Linked DNA regions of Homo sapiens: region 1 is linked to region 2. The links are contacts of gene promoters, found by promoter capture Hi-C in human tissues and cell types (Jung and others, 2019). All regions are on one chromosome and are shown on one strand. Each heading gives the region's core, a stretch centred on a gene start or on the middle of the fragment in contact. The rest is flanking DNA. Distances are from core to core; before and after follow the strand shown.

What was found. Contacts are between HindIII fragments. The study calls those that stand out against the background at their distance.
Region 1: a fragment that was not itself captured here is called in contact with the fragment with the promoter of CCSAP in region 2 in 2 of the 25 tissues and cell types used here (dorsolateral prefrontal cortex and hippocampus).

Annotation. Positions count from the first base shown.
Region 1 is chr1:228,835,220-228,839,709 of GRCh38, forward strand. No RefSeq gene overlaps it. Among named protein-coding and RNA genes, the nearest start is that of RHOU, 100 kb to the left of the region's middle. The HindIII fragment of the contact is 4,581 bases long and covers 538-4,490 here.
Region 2 is chr1:229,341,454-229,345,696 of GRCh38, forward strand. It overlaps CCSAP (centriole, cilia and spindle associated protein), which reads right to left and starts at 1,594. Exons shown (of 4, transcript NM_145257.5): 1 at 1,459-1,594; 2 at 646-1,060. The coding sequence starts at 1,012. RefSeq lists silencers at 643-842, 1,043-1,902, 2,749-3,043. The HindIII fragment of the contact is 5,214 bases long and covers 1-4,228 here.

The DNA of each region.
Region 1 (4,490 bases), core at 1,578-4,077, 500 kb before region 2:
GAGCAAGAAAGAGAGGGAGGAGGTGTCAGGATCTTCTAAACAACTAGATCTTGCGAGAGCCCATACAGTGATAACTCATTAAGTACTATGAGGATAGCACCAAGACAGTAATGAGGGGTCTACTTCCATGACCTAAACACCTCCCACTAGGCCCACCTTTAACATTAGAGGTCACATTTCGCATGAGATTTGGAGAGGACAAAACATCCAAACCATATCACTTGTTATGAAGACTGTAGGGTGGAGTTGGTAGGTGGTTGGACAGCGTGCGGGATCTATGACCATTTTGGGTAATATCCCAGGTTATGGTCTCCAGGTTTTACTGAATTTGCTGGAAAAAATTATGCCTTTCATAAACTAATATTAGTGAATACCTACCTCACGCTCTGTTTTTTTCTTTTAAGAGATGGGGTCTTACTATGTTGCCCAGGCTGAAGTATAGTGGCTGCTCAGAGGCATGATCATCTCACACTACAGCCTTGAACTCCTGGGCTCAAGCGATCCCCCACCTCAGCCTCCCAAGTAGCTGGGACTATAGGCTCCTGCCACCAAGCCCGGGTCCTCTCTATTTTCTTGTAGCATGTTATGTGTCTATTTCTAACATGTTAAGCTGATTAAAAAGACCACAAAACAATGAGGCCAAAATTCTGTAAGTTTTGTGTCATTAATATTTTTTCTAAATAAAACCCACTCAAGTCTTGTTATTTTCTGAGTTTTCATTTCCAGCCTCTCTTATCCTCTAAGCCTTTCCTCATGTCATCTCAAAAATCTCTTCTTCCAATGCTACTCTGACTGTATCATTGCTTGGTTGCTGATTGCCTATCATAATTAGCCAGATTTGTCAGCATGAATGAATGCTCATGTCAGTGTCAGAACAGGCAATACACATTTGTTAAAGGGACAGATGTGTGAATGGGCGCTGATGTTCTGCATGGGTAAGTCCTTCCGCGTGGCTCACCCCTGTTTCTTTCCCACACTGCTGCAACAAGCCTGCCTACAGTTTCCTACCCTGGGATGCCTGCACTAGCATGCACACTGGAGGGCAAGCCTTTACTGACTGGAATGTCTGCACCTGACTATCTGTGCTAGTGGGATCAATGATGGATTCACCACCCGGCTAAGCTTTCCCTGAGTTACCTGGTTGACGATGTTCACTAATCCCATAGCCCCCAGGGCTTGAGAGTATCGTTCACAGCAGAGGAGTTTGCATTTCTTTATGTATGTAGTAACATATTATCTTTTATATGCACTTTACCTGCTTCTTCCTTAGAAGGTAGACTCCTCAGGGCCAGAAATACAGTCCTCTGTTTCTTTTATCCCTCCTCACAGCCTCTGCCAGTGCTCTGCAGCTCAAAGGTCCCTGATAAGCAGAGTGACTTCAGCATTGTAATGAACCAGAGCACAGAGAGAGGCTGTGCAAGCAAAGGGTAGGAGCAGCCCTAGAAGAAGGCACACATTCATTCCTCGGGTTGCAGCCTGTTTACAGAGGGAGAGAATCTCTGCTGCAGTTACCCAGCATCCAGGGGTCCATGCTCTGCCAGCGTCACTCAGCCACGTGAGATGGGGTGATTGGACCAAAGGAGATACATGGTGTTTTATTTAGTGATGGTGGGGCCATTTCTGTTTTTATTTGTTTTTAACTGGGGTATGTGTGTCAGGACCACACAGCAGCAGGGAGAAGCTTCCACCTGCTTGGAACAAAAATGGGAAGGCTGCATTTCCAGGCTGCATTTATCTTATGTGTAGTGTAAGCAGCATCGCTGACTGGGAAAGAAAAAAGGGTAAAGAGCATTATAGATGCCTGATAATTCAGTCCTTAAGAGATGGCTCACTCAATTGCTTGGTTTTGTATTTTCATTTCTTTTCCTGACTGAAAATGGATCTGGAGCCTGAGAGCACCTGATGTTGGGCGAGGCCTCTGGGTACGAGGTGGAAGTTCACATTTCTGGATTATGTGTAGTTTCAGAATGCCTTCTATCTCGGTGTCAGGATAGATGTTAAGATGCAGGAATTCTCATAAATCTTCTCGTTAAAAAGAAGAAAACAACAAAACTTCTCACAGAACATAAAAACCATGTCAGGTGGCCGGGCGTGGTGGCTCATGCCTGTAAACTCAGCACTTTGGAAGTCCAAGGTGGGTGGATCACGAGGTCAGGTATTTGAGACCAGCCTGGGCAACATGTGAAATCCCGTCCCTACTAAAAATACAAAAATTAGCGGGGAGTTGTGGCACACTCCTGTAATCCCAGCTACTCAGGAGGCTGAGGCAGGAGAATCGCTTGAACCCAGGAGGCAGAGGTTGCAGTGAGCCAAGATCATGCCATTGCACTCCAGTCTGGGCGACAGAGCAAGACTGTCTCAAAAAAAACCCCAAAAAAACAAAAAAAACCCATGTCAGGTTGCTCCCCTGAGCAAGGCCAAGCTCAGTTTTCACCTGGTGGTCCCATGGGGAGCTTCCTGTGGCTTAGTGTTTGCGTCTGCCATTTGCTATCCCTCCCCAGCACACCTTCCTGTGGATGGAACTTGCCAGAACTTCCTCAGCAACCCTGAAGAGGAAAGCTGGAGGCCCCAACAGACGCAGAAGTGGGCTGCACTGCTGTGCTTCCATGGGGCAGTCAGGGCTCAGGGCCCCAGCAGCAGGCCAAACCCCAGCCCAGCTCCCTTGCAAACCTCCTCTGTCATGTACCCTGGGAGTCAGGTCCAACCCCACTATGTCACAACTGAGGAAACAGAGGCCCCGAGAAGTTCAGGGAGAGCTGGGGTCAAGATGCTAGATCCTGCCTCTGGGTGTGGTGGCTTTTGTTCTTGTCATCCGGTGGGCACTGGGCCTGCCCCGCACAGCTCCTTCACCCCGGAGAGGTGACAGCAGACTACATTAGGCCCTGCCAGGCCCAAAGACTCCAGCCTGTTAATCTTTAACCAGAGCTCTGGACAAAGGTAGCCCTTCTGACCTCCTGAGAGTTTCTGAATAGCTCGGAGGCTTCTGTGACAGAGCCACACGTTAGCAATGACATATATTTAGTGCAGGGAGGCATGTTGAGTACAGTTCTAAATTCTGTTGTGAATTGTGCCCAGGGAACAAGCACAGAGAACATTTTCACCATGGATATGTATGTACTTGTAAGAAGCAGCTGGGTGGTTCCTTCAGCAATCTGCTGAGCTGTGGCGATTACATCACACACTGGTGCAAAGGCCTTGAACCATTAATGTGCTGCCTCTGCGAGGGTGACCAGGATTCCAGCAATGAACAGAGAAGGTGCTTGTCCCCACTGCTCACTGGGTGCCTTCAGATTCTTAACTTTTGTCTTTTTCTTTTTTCTTTCACTTCTTACCTGTATCTATAAAACAGGACTCTGTTTGCTTTGAAAAGAGCCAGAATGACCTCAGGGGTCAGTGACTCATGCTGTTGGCTCTGTGAACACAATCGAGTGCCCCTTACGTAAGAAGCTCCTGCTATCTGAGGGAAGGGAGGTCCGAGCCATTATTCCTTGGTTATAAACACTCCATGTGGTTTTGTTTGGTGGTTTTAAAAAAGGTGTGTCCACAGGGTTGGTGTTCTAGAATCGTGGGCAGAAAGAAGTCTAGCTCCTTTCATCCAAGGTTCTAAAGGGTTCTCTGAGCTGTAACTCAGCTCTAACTGGACAAAGAGGCAACAATTCCCCTCATTTCCTGTGCGCTGTCACCACAGGAGGCTACACTTAAGGAGGTCAACTCAAGTTGTTTGGACCAAGCTTCCGCAGTTGTTCCCATTATCCTGTTTGAATCCATTCACTCTTACACTGGCCATGCAAATAGACACTCCCCAAGGAAAGAAGGACCTTAGAAAATAAGTGATCTCAGTTTTCATCTGACTTTCTTCTGGGGTGTGGGGCTGGTCATGGGTCTATATTCCCTGCTGTGGTCAGGGCCCTGTGGGACATGTGGCTGTGTCCCAGCCCTCTAGCACAATCTGCCGTCACTCCTGGGCTTTTGTATGCCTGCTCCCATTTGCTCTTATCTCCTCAACAACCACGTCAGGTAGATAATACATACCATCAGTCCCAGTTTACAGATGAAAAAAGTGAGGCACAGGGAGCTTCAGTAACTTGATCAAGACTAGAATTCAGAGAAATAGCCAAACCATGACTCATGATCCTCTTGCTCCAAAGTGCGTTGTCTCCCCCACAGCCCACTATATTTGTTGTTTATTTTTGAAAATGGTCATGAACTCAGCTAAGACGCTGGGGCAGTGGAGCGGAGGGAGAGAGCCTGCTCTTCACAGAGGGCTTATGGGGTGAGAGGAAGGGAAGCTAAGTACAGGGCAGGCCGGGGCCATCTAAGGTGGCCTCTGACCATCCTGGAGAGGCATGGGGCTAGAGAATGAAGAATGAGGCAGAAATGAGCGTTTTTGAACTGGTTTACCGAGCAAGAACTAGAATGGAAGGGGACATATTACAAATGACAAATGCCTGATCCAAAGCCCATGAGATGCTATTGATGAGGGCCACGGA
Region 2 (4,243 bases), core at 344-2,843:
CCTTGAAAACACGCGCAGCGCCACCGGCGCTTTCGGATCTGGACAGGCGAGGGAGGATGGGGAGGGACGGAAGGGGAGAGGCCCTAGCACTTATAAAGATGCTCTCACAGCCAAGTTATTCAACACTCCACGTAAACAAATGCAAAATATTCTTTAGGGACAGCGTAGCGAGGTCGGGGAGTTAATACGGAAAACAATGGCCCCATTCATCAGACAAAGCTTAGCTCTGTGGTTCTTAACCTTTTGGGTTACCTTTGAGAATCTGATTAAAGCTGGGGCTCCTCTGATCAAAAATGGGCGCCTAGAAATAAGCAGATGGGACTCAGTGGTTCGCCAAGAAATAAGATGGGATTCAGAGGTTTGCCAAGCCGCAGAGGCCCGCGAGGAAAGACCCCAGACTCAGCCAGCGGCGCTTCAATTGAGTTCACCGCTGGCTCGACCGAAAGCCACCTAATTAAGGAAATAAAGGGTGGCAAAGGCTGCCACCTTCCCTATTTTGTCAAGAGAGACGGATTCTGTCAACCGAAAAAAAAAAAAGGAAGAGCCAGCCCCGAGTGGCGCAAGAAATAAGAGATCAGCTGCTCAGAGCTTAGAGCAAACCGTCCCTGCGTGCAGGCCCCTCGCGCTCCCCTCCGGGCCGGGTACCTGGCAGAGCCGCGTCCTCCGCGTCCTCGGCCTCCGCGTCCCCGGCCTCCGCGTCCTGCTCCTCCGGGGCCCCGCGCGCCCGCCGTTCCGCCTCCTCCTGGGTCGCCGGCTCTACGGGCGGCGGGGGCGAGGGCGGGGCGCACCGGGGTGCGGGGCCCCCGGCGCCCGACGACTCTGACGACGCCGAGTCCTCCGAGGAGCCGGCCGGGCCCCAGTCGTCCCAGAGCCAGGGCGCGTGCGCCTGCTCCAGCAGCCGGCGGCCTAGGCGGTAGTGCAGCAGCTCGCGGTAGCACGGCCCGTACTCCTCCCAGCGCGGCTCCTGGTAGCGCTTCATGTACTCGCTCTTCACCCCGCTCCCCGGGGACATGGTGCCGTCCGCCGCCTCGAGCGCCAGCCGCTCCTCGCTGCCCGCAGCCTACGGGACCCGGTACACGACACAGAGGCCGCCCCGCCCCTCCGCCGGCCCTGCCCGCCGCGACGTTTAAACCCGGAGCCCCGCCCGGACGGGAGCAGGGGGCGGGTCCCGGCGAGGGCGGGGAGGGGGCGGGGCGGGGGCGGCCTCACCCGGCGGCCGGGACCAAGAGCAGAGGCGGGGACCGGGGCTGCTGGGGTCGAGGGGCGCGCCGCCGAGGAGGGCTGCTCAGTGGGCGGAAGGCAGGGAGGCTGCGGGCTGGGGCGAGGGGACCGCAGGAGACTGGGGCTGAGCGGGAGGAGGAGCGAGGGAGGGGAGCGGCGGGGCCCGTGATCGGGTGGTCCTGGGGTCTCCGGAGGCGTCCCCTGAGCTAGGCGTGCGGTCCCGCGGGGCTGCCTTACCTCCTTCCCGCCGCGCCCGGCCGATCCTCTGCGCCCAGGCCCGAGGCGCGCGTGGCGCAGCAGCTAAAGCGCAGCTCGCTCTCCCGCGCGCTTTCCTCCTGAGCAAGATGTCGCCGCGGCGGCCCGCGCTCCAGCTGCAGGCGGGAGGCGGTGGCGCCGCCTCAGTCCCGGAGCCTCCACGCGCGCTCCCGGCCCCCGGGCCTCCGCCCGCTCCGTGGGGGCGGCTGCTTCCGTAGAGAGCGCGAGGCGCGGGGGTGCGGGCGTGCCTGCCAGTCCGAGGGGCCCAGGCCCAGGTCCCTGGCCCACTTATTTGAGGTGCCCGTCCACCCTGGTCCCAGCAGACGCTGTCCCAGGCACGCGTCACTCTGCAGGAGTCGTCAGTTAGGGGCAAGAGATGATCCCTCCAGATATGCAGCCCCCCCAGGCTGCGGCCGGGGGCGACACTCTCTGTCCTCACTCGAAACCTACCGGTTCTTCCTCTCTGTGTTCACAACACCTGTTACTCTGGCTTTAACTCCCTTTTATATCTACACTCCCCAAATTCTTTTAGATTTTGATCAAAACCATTTCACTCGCTCAGAGATTCGTTTGCACATAAAAGCTTGACAGATTAACTTACGTTGTGCAGAAGTATACAAAGTTGTCCCATTTGTTACAGTTTCAAAAGTGGCCCCACACTCTTTTCCCTTTTTACACATAAAACCTTCACAGATCCAGTTACTTTGTGCAGAAGTATACAACGTTGCCCCATTTGTTACAGTTTCAAAAGTGGCCCCGCACTGTTTTCCCTTTTTGCTCATAAAACCTCCACAGATCCGGCTGAGCGCTGTGGCTCACGCCTGTAATCCCAGCATTTTGGGAGGCCGAGGCGGGTGGCTCACGAGGTCAGGAGATCGAGACCATCCTGGCTAACACAGTGAAACCCCATCTCTACTAAAAAAATAAAAATAAAAAGAATTAGCCCGGCGTGGTGGTGAACGGCTGTAGTCCCAGCTACTCGGGAGCCTGAGGCAGGAGAATGGCGTGAACCCGGGAGGCGGAGCTTGCAGTGAGCCTAGATTGCGCCACTGCACTCCAGCCTGGGCGACAGAGCAAGACTCCGTCTCAAAAAAAATAAAAAATAAAAAATAAAAACCTTCACAGATCCAGTTACATTGTACAGAAGAATACAACGTTGCCCCATTTGTTACAGTTTCAGAAGTGGTCCTGCACTATTTTCCCTTTCTTAAAAAAAGAGCCTTGATACAGTAGCTGCAAAAAGATTTGAAAGGAAAAAACTTTTGGAAAATCTAAATATATATATAGCAGTTAAAAAGCAAGCCCAGGCCGTGAGTAGCGCTCACGGCTTCCACGTCAGGATTCCCACGAATTCACCTACTTTCTACGTGTCCGCATCCTGCCTCCCACCACCACCGCCCACCTCATCATAGCTAAATGATTCAGAGGCGGCTACTGGCCCAAATGGGGCGGGTCAGACCGTCTGCTCTGAAAACTTGAAGTTACTAGTCCAATCATTAGCACGGGATTGTGTTAATGGCAGTTTTCTGGACGGAAACTCCAGGATACCCTGCTGCTAATGAGTCCGCGGACGCCATGATTTCTCCCCTTCCCAACTTTATTTTCTGTTCCTTGACTTACATTAGGGACATTCTAATGCACTTTCCTTTTGTTTAAGCTGGCTGGGGTTGGTTTCTGATGTTTGCAACCAAAGTAGCCTTAATAAAGATTGAATAAGGTGGGGAAATGGTTATATGTAGTTCTATGGGACATGCAGGACACCATCGGTTTCAGCTTTTGCTGCATAATTCACTCCAAAACTCAGTGGTTTAAAACAGCTAAGATTTATTATTTCTTATGATTCTGAGGGTTAGCTGGGCAGTTCCTCCGCAGTTGGATTCTGATGGAGAGACAGCAGGGCTGGAAGTTTCAAGATGACCTCCTGATATAGTTGGGATAATTCCTCCAAATCTGAAGTTGAAATTGATCCCCAATGTTGGAGGTGGGGCCTAGTGGGAAGTGTGTGGGTCATGGGGGCAGATCCCTCATGCATGGCTTGGTGCCATTCTTCAGTAACGAGTGAGTTCTCACTCTTTTAGTTTGCATGAGAGCTTGTTGTTCAAAAAGAGCCTGGCATGTCCTCCTCTCTCTCTCTCACTCCCTTTCTCTCTCCATGTGACATGACAGCTCCCCTTCCCCTTCCACCATGATTGGAAGCTCCCTGAGGCCTCACCAGAAGCAGATGCTGACACTGTGCTTCCTGTATAGCCTGCAGAACCATGAGCCAAATAAACCTGTTTTATTTATAAATTACCCAGCCTCCGGTATTCCTTTATAACAGCACAAAACAAACTAGTACACCTCCCTTACATAACTGGCAGTGGGGTGGGCTGTGGGCTGGGCCGTCTTGGTCACATCCTCCAGAAGCCTGGACTGGCATCTCAAGGTCATATACATCTCCTGCTGCATTCTCACGTTCAAAGAAATCACAAGGCTAAGAGTCAAGGGAGAGAAATGAACTTCCCTTCTGCATAAGAGGAGCAGCAAATTCACATTCCAAAAGGGATTGCATACCGGGTGAAGGAATTTGCGGGCATATTTTACAATCTTCAACACAACACACACACACACACACACACACAAATATAAGGGCACTCTGGGAGGCCAAGGCAGGCGGATCACCTGAGGTCAGGAGTTCAAGACCAACCTGGCCAACATGGCGAAACCTCATTTTTACTAAAAATACAAAAATTAGCTGGACTTGGTGGTGCATGCTTGTAGTCCCAGC